Regions from separate parts of the Homo sapiens genome. Here region 1 is linked to region 2. The links are contacts of gene promoters, found by promoter capture Hi-C in human tissues and cell types (Jung and others, 2019). All regions are on one chromosome and are shown on one strand. Each heading gives the region's core, a stretch centred on a gene start or on the middle of the fragment in contact. The rest is flanking DNA. Distances are from core to core; before and after follow the strand shown. Region 1 holds the start of LPCAT2 (lysophosphatidylcholine acyltransferase 2). Region 2 holds the start of RPGRIP1L (RPGRIP1 like).

The links. The method cuts DNA at HindIII sites, captures the fragments that hold promoters and counts their contacts. A contact is called where the count stands out against the background at its distance.
Region 1: the fragment with the promoter of LPCAT2 here is called in contact with the fragment with the promoter of RPGRIP1L in region 2 in 1 of the 25 tissues and cell types used here (bladder).

The regions. Positions count from the first base shown.
Region 1 is chr16:55,506,508-55,511,402 of GRCh38, forward strand. It overlaps LPCAT2 (lysophosphatidylcholine acyltransferase 2), which reads left to right and starts at 2,565. Exons shown (of 14, transcript NM_017839.5): 1 at 2,565-2,845. The coding sequence starts at 2,675. It overlaps MMP2 (matrix metallopeptidase 2), which reads left to right. Exons shown (of 13, transcript NM_004530.6): 13 at 1-184. The HindIII fragment of the contact is 8,978 bases long and covers 1-4,895 here.
Region 2 is chr16:53,700,810-53,705,684 of GRCh38, forward strand. It overlaps RPGRIP1L (RPGRIP1 like), which reads right to left and starts at 3,050. Exons shown (of 27, transcript NM_015272.5): 1 at 2,994-3,050. It overlaps FTO (FTO alpha-ketoglutarate dependent dioxygenase), which reads left to right and starts at 3,347. Exons shown (of 9, transcript NM_001080432.3): 1 at 3,347-3,420. The coding sequence starts at 3,376. RefSeq lists a silencer at 2,960-3,009 and enhancers at 3,045-3,545, 3,160-3,569. The HindIII fragment of the contact is 17,694 bases long and covers 463-4,875 here.

The sequences.
Region 1 (4,895 bases), core at 1,315-3,814, 1.8 Mb after region 2:
TTCTTCATTAGCAATCATATCAGTTTTAATGCTACTACTAACAATGAACAGTAACAATAATATCCCCCTCAATTAATAGAGTGCTTTCTATGTGCAAGGCACTTTTCACGTGTCACCTATTTTAACCTTTCCAACCACATAAATAAAAAAGGCCATTATTAGTTGAATCTTATTGATGAAGAGACTGATGGCTCAAGAGAAGTGATTTTTCCAGGGTCCCATAGCTATTAGGGACCTACAAGGCCAAAGGATAGCCTAGCAGAGGAGCTTTAGCTCTCAAACCAGAATCTCACCACCCTCCGCCACCCTCAAAAACACCCCCACCACCTTCAAAACCGCTCCTGCTACCCTCCACCACCCCCAAAACCACGCTGGGTAAACACAGCTAAGGGAGAAATACTGTGCTTGCTTCTAAACACAGCTGGTATTAATGGATAAGCTCCTTACTCCTTCCTACCAGTCTACCCACTCCTAATCTCCTACATAGAAATTCTGGAGCTACTGCTGAACAGAAATTGAAGGCCTGGGGTTTTTCTGAGGCCCTTTCTGGCTCCGATAGTCTGATTGATAGTATATATATTGCTTCTGGCCTCTTATGATGGGGCTGGTGAGGAAGGTGCGTAAGGAGTGAACTCTACAGGTGACCTCCTCAGTGAGCCTGATGTCATTGTTTCTATCTCTTTTTTCTGTTTTTGAGATGGAGTCTCACTCTGTCACCCAGGCTGGAGTGCAATGGCGCAATCTCGGCTCACTGTAACCTCTGCCTCCCAGGTTTAAGTGATTCTCCTGCCTCAGCCTCCCAAGTAGCTGGGATTACAGGTGCACGCCACCATACCCAGCTAATTTGTTTTGTATTTTGGTAGAGACAGGTATCACCGTGTTGCCCAGGCTGGTCTCGAACTCCTGAGATCAGGCAATCCACCCATCTCGGCCTCCCAAAGTGCTAGGATTATTGGTGTGAGCCACCACTCTCGGCCCCATCTTTTCTATCTTTTATCCTCCCATGGCCTGTCCCCTTGACTCAGATTCTTTTTGTTTCTTCTTCTTCTTTTTTTTTCTTTTTTGAGACAGTGTCTTTCTCTGTCACCCAGGCTGGAGTGCAATGGCATGATCATAGCTCACTGCAGACTTGATCTTCTGGGCTCAAGCAATCCTCCCACTTCAGCCTCCTGAGTAGCTGGGACTGCAGGCATGCAACAGCACAGCCAGCTAATTTTTAATTTTTTTTAGAGATGGTGGAGTCTCTCTTTGTTGCCCAGGCTGGTCTCGAACTCCTGGGCTCAAGGGATCCACCCTCCTCAGCCCCCAAAGTGCTAGGATTACAGGCGTGAGCCACTGCACCTGGCCTGGCTTAGGTTGTTGACAGTTGGAAAGACATCTTTCTGTGCAGGTATCTGGCTAAAGAGTCTCAAGGGTCTGCCAGTCCCAACTTGAAGACCCCCTAGACTGGGGAATCTTCTATCATGGCTGTAATGCACTGTTATTAATGTTCCCTGTTACACTGAGAGAAAAGTCAGTGGCTCCACAACATAATAATGCTTAAAACATGCCATTTCTTCAGTGTTTCTCTATGAACACTACACATGCATTATTTTATTTAATCCTTGCTACAATTCTATGGAGTTAGAATGAATCTCCCATTCCTAGACAAGGAAGCAAACTCAGGTTAAGTGACTGACTCAAGGCCACACATCTATGTGGTAGGGCTGGAAGATTCTGACATTCAGAGGGTAACTTTGGAGAACCCCAGGGCTCAGACTCAGATTTTCATCCTGGCCTTCCTACCTGCTGTGAGAAGAGTTGATCAGTTGGGATGAGTTGATTATCATCTCCTTCCTTTAACTCTCAGCCACTCAGGGTTGATCAACTGTCCTCAGATAATGGGACAAACCCCTGCCCTCCCACCCCCACGAGCACCCACATAGGTCCAAACAGGCTTGAACTTCCTCAGTGTGAAAGGGAGCCACAGCCCAATACATTTCCCTTTTCTGGGTCAGGTTCCTCATCTAGCGTGGAGGGCAACTGTAATTTTTGCCTTTTCTGGTAATAGTAGCTCAGTTTTCCTCTGGAGAACCATCTCTCCCCTGTCAGTCCATTATGTTTTGAGTGAAACAAATTCCACTCCTAGTGCCATCATGGGTGTATTAATATTAGCTCACTTAATGGAACAGCCCAGGGGAAGTGGTTGCTCAATGGCATTACTGGATCCAGGTTAGGATTATCTGAGAATACATTTATCTGCATTTTACGGAAGGCAACCGAGGTTCATAGAGATAGTGATTTGGCCAGCGTCACAGGCCCAGTAAAAGGGATTGAAAATCCAGGTCCGTCCGACCCTAAAGCAGGGAACTCTGCCTAGTGTCTCGCTGTGGAATGTTAGGGATCCTGGGGTACCCTTCAGGGTCTTGGCTCGGAAGGAAAACATTCCCCTCCGAGGGGATGGACTATATTACCAAGGGGGTGGAGCCAGATGCCTGAGGGGGTGTGGCCAGAGCCTGGGGCGTGTCACAGCCGAAGGGGCAGGGCGGCAGCAGCAGGCGTCTAAGTAACTTCAGCGCCTGCGCAGAGGCTCCCCAGCGTCGCCCTAGGCTGGGACTCTAGTAGGTCTTCGGCTCAGTTTTGGCTGCAGCGCCCGCGTAGATCGCTTCGGCCGGGTTCTACGCCCGGCTCAACTATGAGCCGGTGCGCCCAGGCGGCGGAAGTGGCGGCCACAGTGCCAGGTGCCGGCGTCGGGAACGTGGGGCTGCGGCCGCCCATGGTGCCCCGTCAGGCGTCCTTCTTCCCGCCGCCGGTGCCGAACCCCTTCGTGCAGCAGACGCAGATCGGCTCCGCGAGGCGGGTCCAGGTGAGGGGCGTGGGTCTGAGGGGAGAGGTGGTCTGAGGGGGGCCTAGGTCAGAGGGGGGTCCAGGTAAGGGGTGTGGGTCTGAGAGAGGAGGGCGGCCGAGGGGGGCGTGGGTCTGAGGGAGTGAGGTGGTCCGAGGCGGGCGAGAGTCTGAGGAGGGAGGTGGCCTGAAGGGGGCATGGGTCTGAGGAGGGAGGTGGCCCGAGGGGAGCCAGGGTCTGGGGCGGGTCCAGGTGACTGGTGTAGGTCTGACGGGGGAGGGCGGTCGAGGGGCGCGTGGGTCTGAGGGGCGTTGTGGGTCTGGGAAGCAAAGGCATCAGAGGAAGAAAGAGCAGTGGATCTGAGAGGAGAGGACTTCTGAGGGGCCGTGAGCCTGAAAGGGGCGGAGATGTGTGTCTGAGAATTGAGGACATTTAGAGGATGGTCTGAGCGGGCACGGGAGGAGAGAAGATGCTGGGAAGATGCGGGCCTGAGAGGAGAATCCAAAACAGGAAGAGACTGAGCTGGCTGGTGGCGCAGGCTACATTCCATGCCCCAGAAGGTTGAAGGAATCTGTGAATCTGTGACAGAAGCTTCAACTTGAGTTTATGAGAGTGTAGTGGGAGGCAGATCTACTACGGGAGAGTAGATTTGAAGAAGTCTTTTTTTTTTTTTTTTTGCCTTAGGAAGGAGAGGAGTCAGTATGGGATGGATAAGAGTGAGGCAGAAGGCAGAGAGCCTAGGTCTGTGGTTAGAACAACAGGTAAGGCTGGAAAGATTTAGCTGAGCAGGAGCATGATGGAGGGTGGGAAGTCAGAATCAAAGAAAAGGGACAACTGAGTCAGCTTAGGATGTTCAAGAAGTTTTGGTCCAGAATCAGTCTTCACCTAAAAACGTTTCCTAAGTTGAAGCATGAGAAGTAGTAGCCCAGGCTGTTTTCCATTGTTAAAAATGGCTATACTGTTATGCACAAAGGAAGTTTCCTTTCCTTTCCTTTTTCTTGTAAAGGGTTCCTTTTACCATTGGCAGTTGCACTCTTTGGACTTCCTCTTTGTTGAAGTTAGTGATCAGAGAACAAGATAGACCCTGCTAACCACATTTGTCCGTGTGTTCTGCGGGGGTTGGGGGGGTGGGGGAACAATTTTGAAGTTTTCATGTCCATCTCACACATTACTTTGGATTTGAAGCAGTATAATATTTGCAATCAGCTTGTATGCACTAAGACCATTGTCCTCTACAGTGGGGGAAGGTTAAGTGCAGAGCTAAACAACACAGGTGGTGGCTTGAGTAATGGTAGATGGGTGTCTGGTTGAAGAGGGGTGTGAGAGAGGAAGAAGATAAAGAATGTAGTAATACTGCTTTGTGAGGAAATTAAACGTTTAAAAATGTGATCCTCATGTCTTTAAATTAATAGATATTCTTTTTGTGTCTTCACATTCTGAAACATTTGTAAATACATAGACCATTGTTCAAGATTAAATTTAGTCTGATTTAATTAAATCATACTTAAATGAAAATATGCCCATCTATTTGACTTCATATTTTGGAAAGAAACAGCATGGAATGTTGACAAATATTTATATTGCACCTATAATAAATTATTAAGTTTTTCCATCACCTGGTTTGTTACTGTTTAAAGATCTCTTCCAAATAACTCTCTGAGAGTTATAGTATAATGGAATGATAGCTAGTCAGTTATAGGAACTGGTCATTTATTAGTTGTATGACTTTGGCCAAGTCACTTAACCTCTCTGAACTATACTTTTCTCGTCTATTACATTGGAATATTAATAACTCAAAGGAGGGCTACAATTAAGTGAAATAATCTGTTATTGTTTGTTGATCTTAATATTGATAATATTGATAGTTATCCTATATATTTTCTACAAAGTATATACTGTACTTAAAATTTACTACTTGGATTAAATGGGATTTAACAAAGTCTGGATATTAAAAATACTTTTTAAATTTATATAGATCAGAGATACAAGAGGTTTCAGTGGCTTGAATCATCTGGGTAAAGGGAAGATTTGAATAGGCATGGTAGAAAAACAATGTCCATATTATCCAGTT
Region 2 (4,875 bases), core at 1,800-4,299:
AAAAAGGGACTAGAACTTTAATGGGCATCTTATTGTCCACATGTGCTGCTTGGAGAAGATGAAAGCTTCTATTCTAATAGTACTACTACATTCAGTCATGGAGACAGTGTTCCTTTCAACAGTGTATTTCCTATAGTTTGCTTAGGAAATGAAGTAAGATTATCATTTAAGAAATACCTCCTCTCCATCCCTTTCCTCTCCCCAGCCTCCAAAAGAAAGCAGATATCTTGGAAAAAACTCAGGTCAGGAACTTGATTCAAATGGTTGCTCTATCATTAACAAACTAGTCAAGCCACCTAAACTCTCTGAGTTTCAGTCTCTCAGTTTTAAAAATGGAGAAAATAATACCTATCTCAGAGAGTTATTCTAAGGGTAAATGGGATGAGTAAATTAAAAGCACTGATCACATGTGCCTGGGATGTCAATATTACTCAAATATTGTCTGCTTGATGTACAAATGAGTGGGCAGTTCTGTGCATTTTGTGAGTTTTGTGAAAGAGGTTTCGTTGCATAAATTTACCAACTGGGTTTGTGTTTTTTTGTGTGTGTGTCTTGCCTTTGTTGCCATGAGGCCTAGGTCTCACCCAGGGTTCAACTACTTCAACATATAGGCTCTCTAGCTAATTCTAGTATTTTTGTAGTTTCTATTCTTTACAGAAATACACCATAGTAACTCTATTTTGAGTATGGATGTGAGTGGTCCACACAATATCTAGTATGCAAAAATAAAGGATTTTATATTTTCATTTCAATCTACCTAGTAAGCTACATGCAAACTGTGAATGAAGATACTCTAAAGGGCAGAGTTCTTAAGCTCTAGGATATTGGTTCTAGAATGTAAAGACCAAGACAGTAGCAAGCTTCATTGTCTTGTTCAGCTCTGTATTCTTGGAGGCTAGCATAGAGCGTGGTGCATTCTGAGAGCAGGCATTCATTAAATAGTTGTTGAGTGAGTGAATGGAGTCCATGGGGTTTCAGGGTCTGTGAACCCAGAGATGGTTTACCAAATTTTGTATGTATATGTATATATGCAATATCTTTTAAAGAGGGTTCATAACTTTTATTACAACTCGCAAATGGTGGAGAACCATTGCATTTTGCTTTTACAGAAACAGCTAACAGACAAATCCTTGGGAGATCATCTACTTCTTTTGGAAGTACTCCTATAGAAAAGGTCAATTTTTAGGATCCTGTTGACACATAGGCCCGTGTATGAAAATGATTAGTTTTCCATGACAGAGTTAAGGTCACTTTAAAAATAATAATGATGATGATGATGATGATGGTGTTAACATTCATTGAACGCTTACTATGTGCCAGGTACTGTTCTAAGTGTTCTGTTATAGGAATGAAGTGTCTCACCATATCCTTGTGAGGCTGTTACTCAAATGATTCCTGCTTTACAAATGAGGAAGCTGAGACACAGATTAGTTAACTCACTTAAGGTGGTAGTTGAAAGTATTAATAGTTGTGTCTGGTGATATTTTTGGTTGTCACAACAAGGAAGCGGGATGCTACTGGCATCTAGTGAGTAGAGGCCATGGATGATGCTAAATATCTTACAGTGCTTAGGAGACATAATAATGAATTATCCAGCCCAAAATGTTAATAATAGTGTAGAAGCTGAAAAACCCTGCACAATGCTGCAATGCCTCTCCAACACCATCTTATGTTATCCTTCTTTGCTCACTATGCTTCACTTACATTATTCTTTACTTTCCTCGAACCCCCCATACCCTTGTCTTGCTCAAGGCCTTTGTATTAGCTGGTTCCTTAATCTTTGGAGCTCAGTTCACTTCCTCAGACAGGTTTTCCCTGACCATCCTATGTTAGAGTAGTCTTCCTTACATTTCTTCACTGTTTATTTCTTTTCTTTTCTTTTTTTTTTTTTTGAGACAGGGTCTTGCTATGTTGCCCGGGCTGGCCTTGAATTCATGGGTTCAAGTGATCCTCCCACCTCAGCCTCCCGAGTAGCTGGAACTACATGTGCGTGCCACCAAGCATGGCTTGTATCTCTTATAGCAACTGCCTCTATCTGAAGTTATCAGATAAAATTATTGTTTGTCTCCACTAAAAAAGGATAAACATCTTGAGACGGGTATTAGTCTTGTTCACAACTGTTCAGGAACAGTGCCTGGTACAGGGTGGGAACCAACATTAATATTTATTGAATGATTGGCTGTGCGTGGTGGCTCACACCTGTAATCCCAGCACTTTGCGAGGCCGAGACGGGCGGCTGACTTCAGGCCAGGAGTTCGAGACCAGCCTGGCCAACATGATGAAACCCTGTCTCTACTAAAAATACAAAAATTAGCTGGGTGTGGTGGCACACGCCTGTAATCCCAGCTACTCGGGAGGCTGAGGCAGAAGAATCGCTTGAACCTGGGAGGAGGAGTTTGCAGTAAGCTGAGGTCTTACCACTGCACTCCAGCCTGGGCAACGGAGCAAGAACCTGTCACACACACAAAAAAAAGAATAAAGAAAAAATATTTATTGAATGAATAAATGAATATCAGGTACTGAGATTAAAATGGCAAGCAAAACCCCCGCCTTTATGAAGCTAGCAAGTTATGGAGGTAATCACATGATAAACAAATAATATATAATTAAGCAAACAATAGACCACTCAGGAGGTTTAGGGTCTACCAACCAACTCCTAATCCAGGGCAAATGAGCAAACTGTGTTAGGGACCTACAACTTGCAGGATCTGGATAGAGATGGCAATTAGCAGCATCAACTCTCACCTTCATGGCTGGGATATAACATTTCAAATTGGTCCTGGACGTGGGGATAAAGGGCGGCCTGTGATTCAGGCCTGAGGATGTGGAGGTGTCTTGGGCTGGGCTGCTTTCACGCCAGCAGAACTCCAGGGCCAACTCCAGGGCCTTCTCCAGGCGGCAGAGCGGACCCTAGGACCCCGGCCCGCGCTGCAGTGGGGAGGGTCAGCAACCTCCACCCACCCTCATCCTCCCCCATCCTCCCGGGTACTCACCGTGCCACTGGCCCTGCAGCTAGCTACCGTTGCTATAGCGCCGACAGCGTGGCGGGCGGCTGGCCGAGAGGAGCACGGGAGAAACATGGCAGGCTCCCGTAGCCTCCTGGGAAATGTAGTTCTCCTTGGACTCTAGCCTGTTTGCTCGCGGGGTAGCGGACTACGCTCTTCCAGCTGTCGGACCTGGGAAATTCTCCTGTGCTAAATCCCGTGGCGCTCGCGGGTGTCGCCGCGGTGCATCCTGGGAGTTGTAGTTTTTTCTACTCAGAGGGAGAATAGCTCCAGACGGGAGCAGGACGCTGAGAGAACTACATGCAGGAGGCGGGGTCCAGGGCGAGGGATCTACGCAGCTTGCGGTGGCGAAGGCGGCTTTAGTGGCAGCATGAAGCGCACCCCGACTGCCGAGGAACGAGAGCGCGAAGCTAAGGTATGTCGGGCTCCCGGGGCCTGGAGATCTTCGTGCGCTGTGAGCAAGGATCAGGGAACCGGAAGGGCTTGGTTTGATGGCGAGCGGATGCGCGGTGTTAAACTAAGGGATGACAGGGCCTTGTCAGCAAGGGACCTGGAGATATTAGAGGGGATGTTACAAATTCGTGCTCTTCAGGATGCAGGCCGAGTCTTGTTGGATCGGCTCAAAAATGAGAAGCAAGATACCCATTTCCTTGTCCTTCTTCTGCATCTATTCCTTGGTTAAATTTGTCGCCATCCCTGTGCCTCAGTTTACCGGATTCTCAGATGACTGTGATCATACCAGCTGTGCTTTCTCATAATGGTCTCTGAGGACTGAGATCGGCTTAGATGAAATATCTGTGCAGTCAGCTGTGTTTCTTTGGAACAATTGTCTCCGTGACCGGCTGATAACAGTTTGTGTCTTTTAGCGCTGTGGATATGAATCTTTAACTACATTGCTCCTCTCTACCTTTGATGTTCAGCTTCTGGTAGTTGCCATTCCATGGGATGACCATAATAATGGCAACAGAGATTTTAAAAAGCATTTATTGTGGGTCAGGCACTGTATTAAGTGCATAATATTTAAATTATTTCATATCATTGTCACAGCAGATTGCAAGATAGATATTATACAGATGGAGTATAAATAACAGCCCAGCTTCACAGATGAAGAACTGAGGCTCAGAAGCATTGAGTGTTTTCCTTTCTCTCATTCCCAAACTCAGATCCTGTTGATTTGTCTACGTATATTGGGAATATGCCCACTTTTTTTTTTTTTCATCTCCACTACCTTGGACCAAGCTACCATTATCTTTTTAATAGACTGTTGGAATAGCCTATTGATTGGCCTACACTCACTCTACACCCTAACTTAACTCTTCTTCCACCTTCTCTCCCTTCCCTCAACTACCATTCTCTTCTGCACACCATAGAGTAAGATCTTCGTGAAATGCAAATATAATTATGTCCCTTTCCTTTCTCCTTACTCTGCCAACCACCTGTTTAAAAATATTCCATGGCTTTCTGTTGCTCTTAGGATAAAGGCAAAACTTCACATTGCCTACAAGATCCTGCATGATCTGGACCCTACCTGCTTTCACAACCCCATTGGATATGACACTCTGCTCTCTGCCTACCAGTCACTTTGGCCTTCTTAAAAGTCACTCTTCACTATACTTTATCGGGCTTCAGGGCCTTTGCACATGTCATTTGCTGCCTACTCTATGTTAGGCAAATATTGGCAGTGAATAACAGTGTTAAATAACGTAGACACAGTTCTTGCTTTCATAGAATTTCATCTTACACGTGAGTCTGTTTAGGGCAATACACCTAAGGATTTAAAATATAAAATCTGCTCTATATTGACCTGAGTTATTGCAGTATTTCGTAAGGGACCAGAAGTTTTCATGCTTGAGTCTGCATATGATGTGGA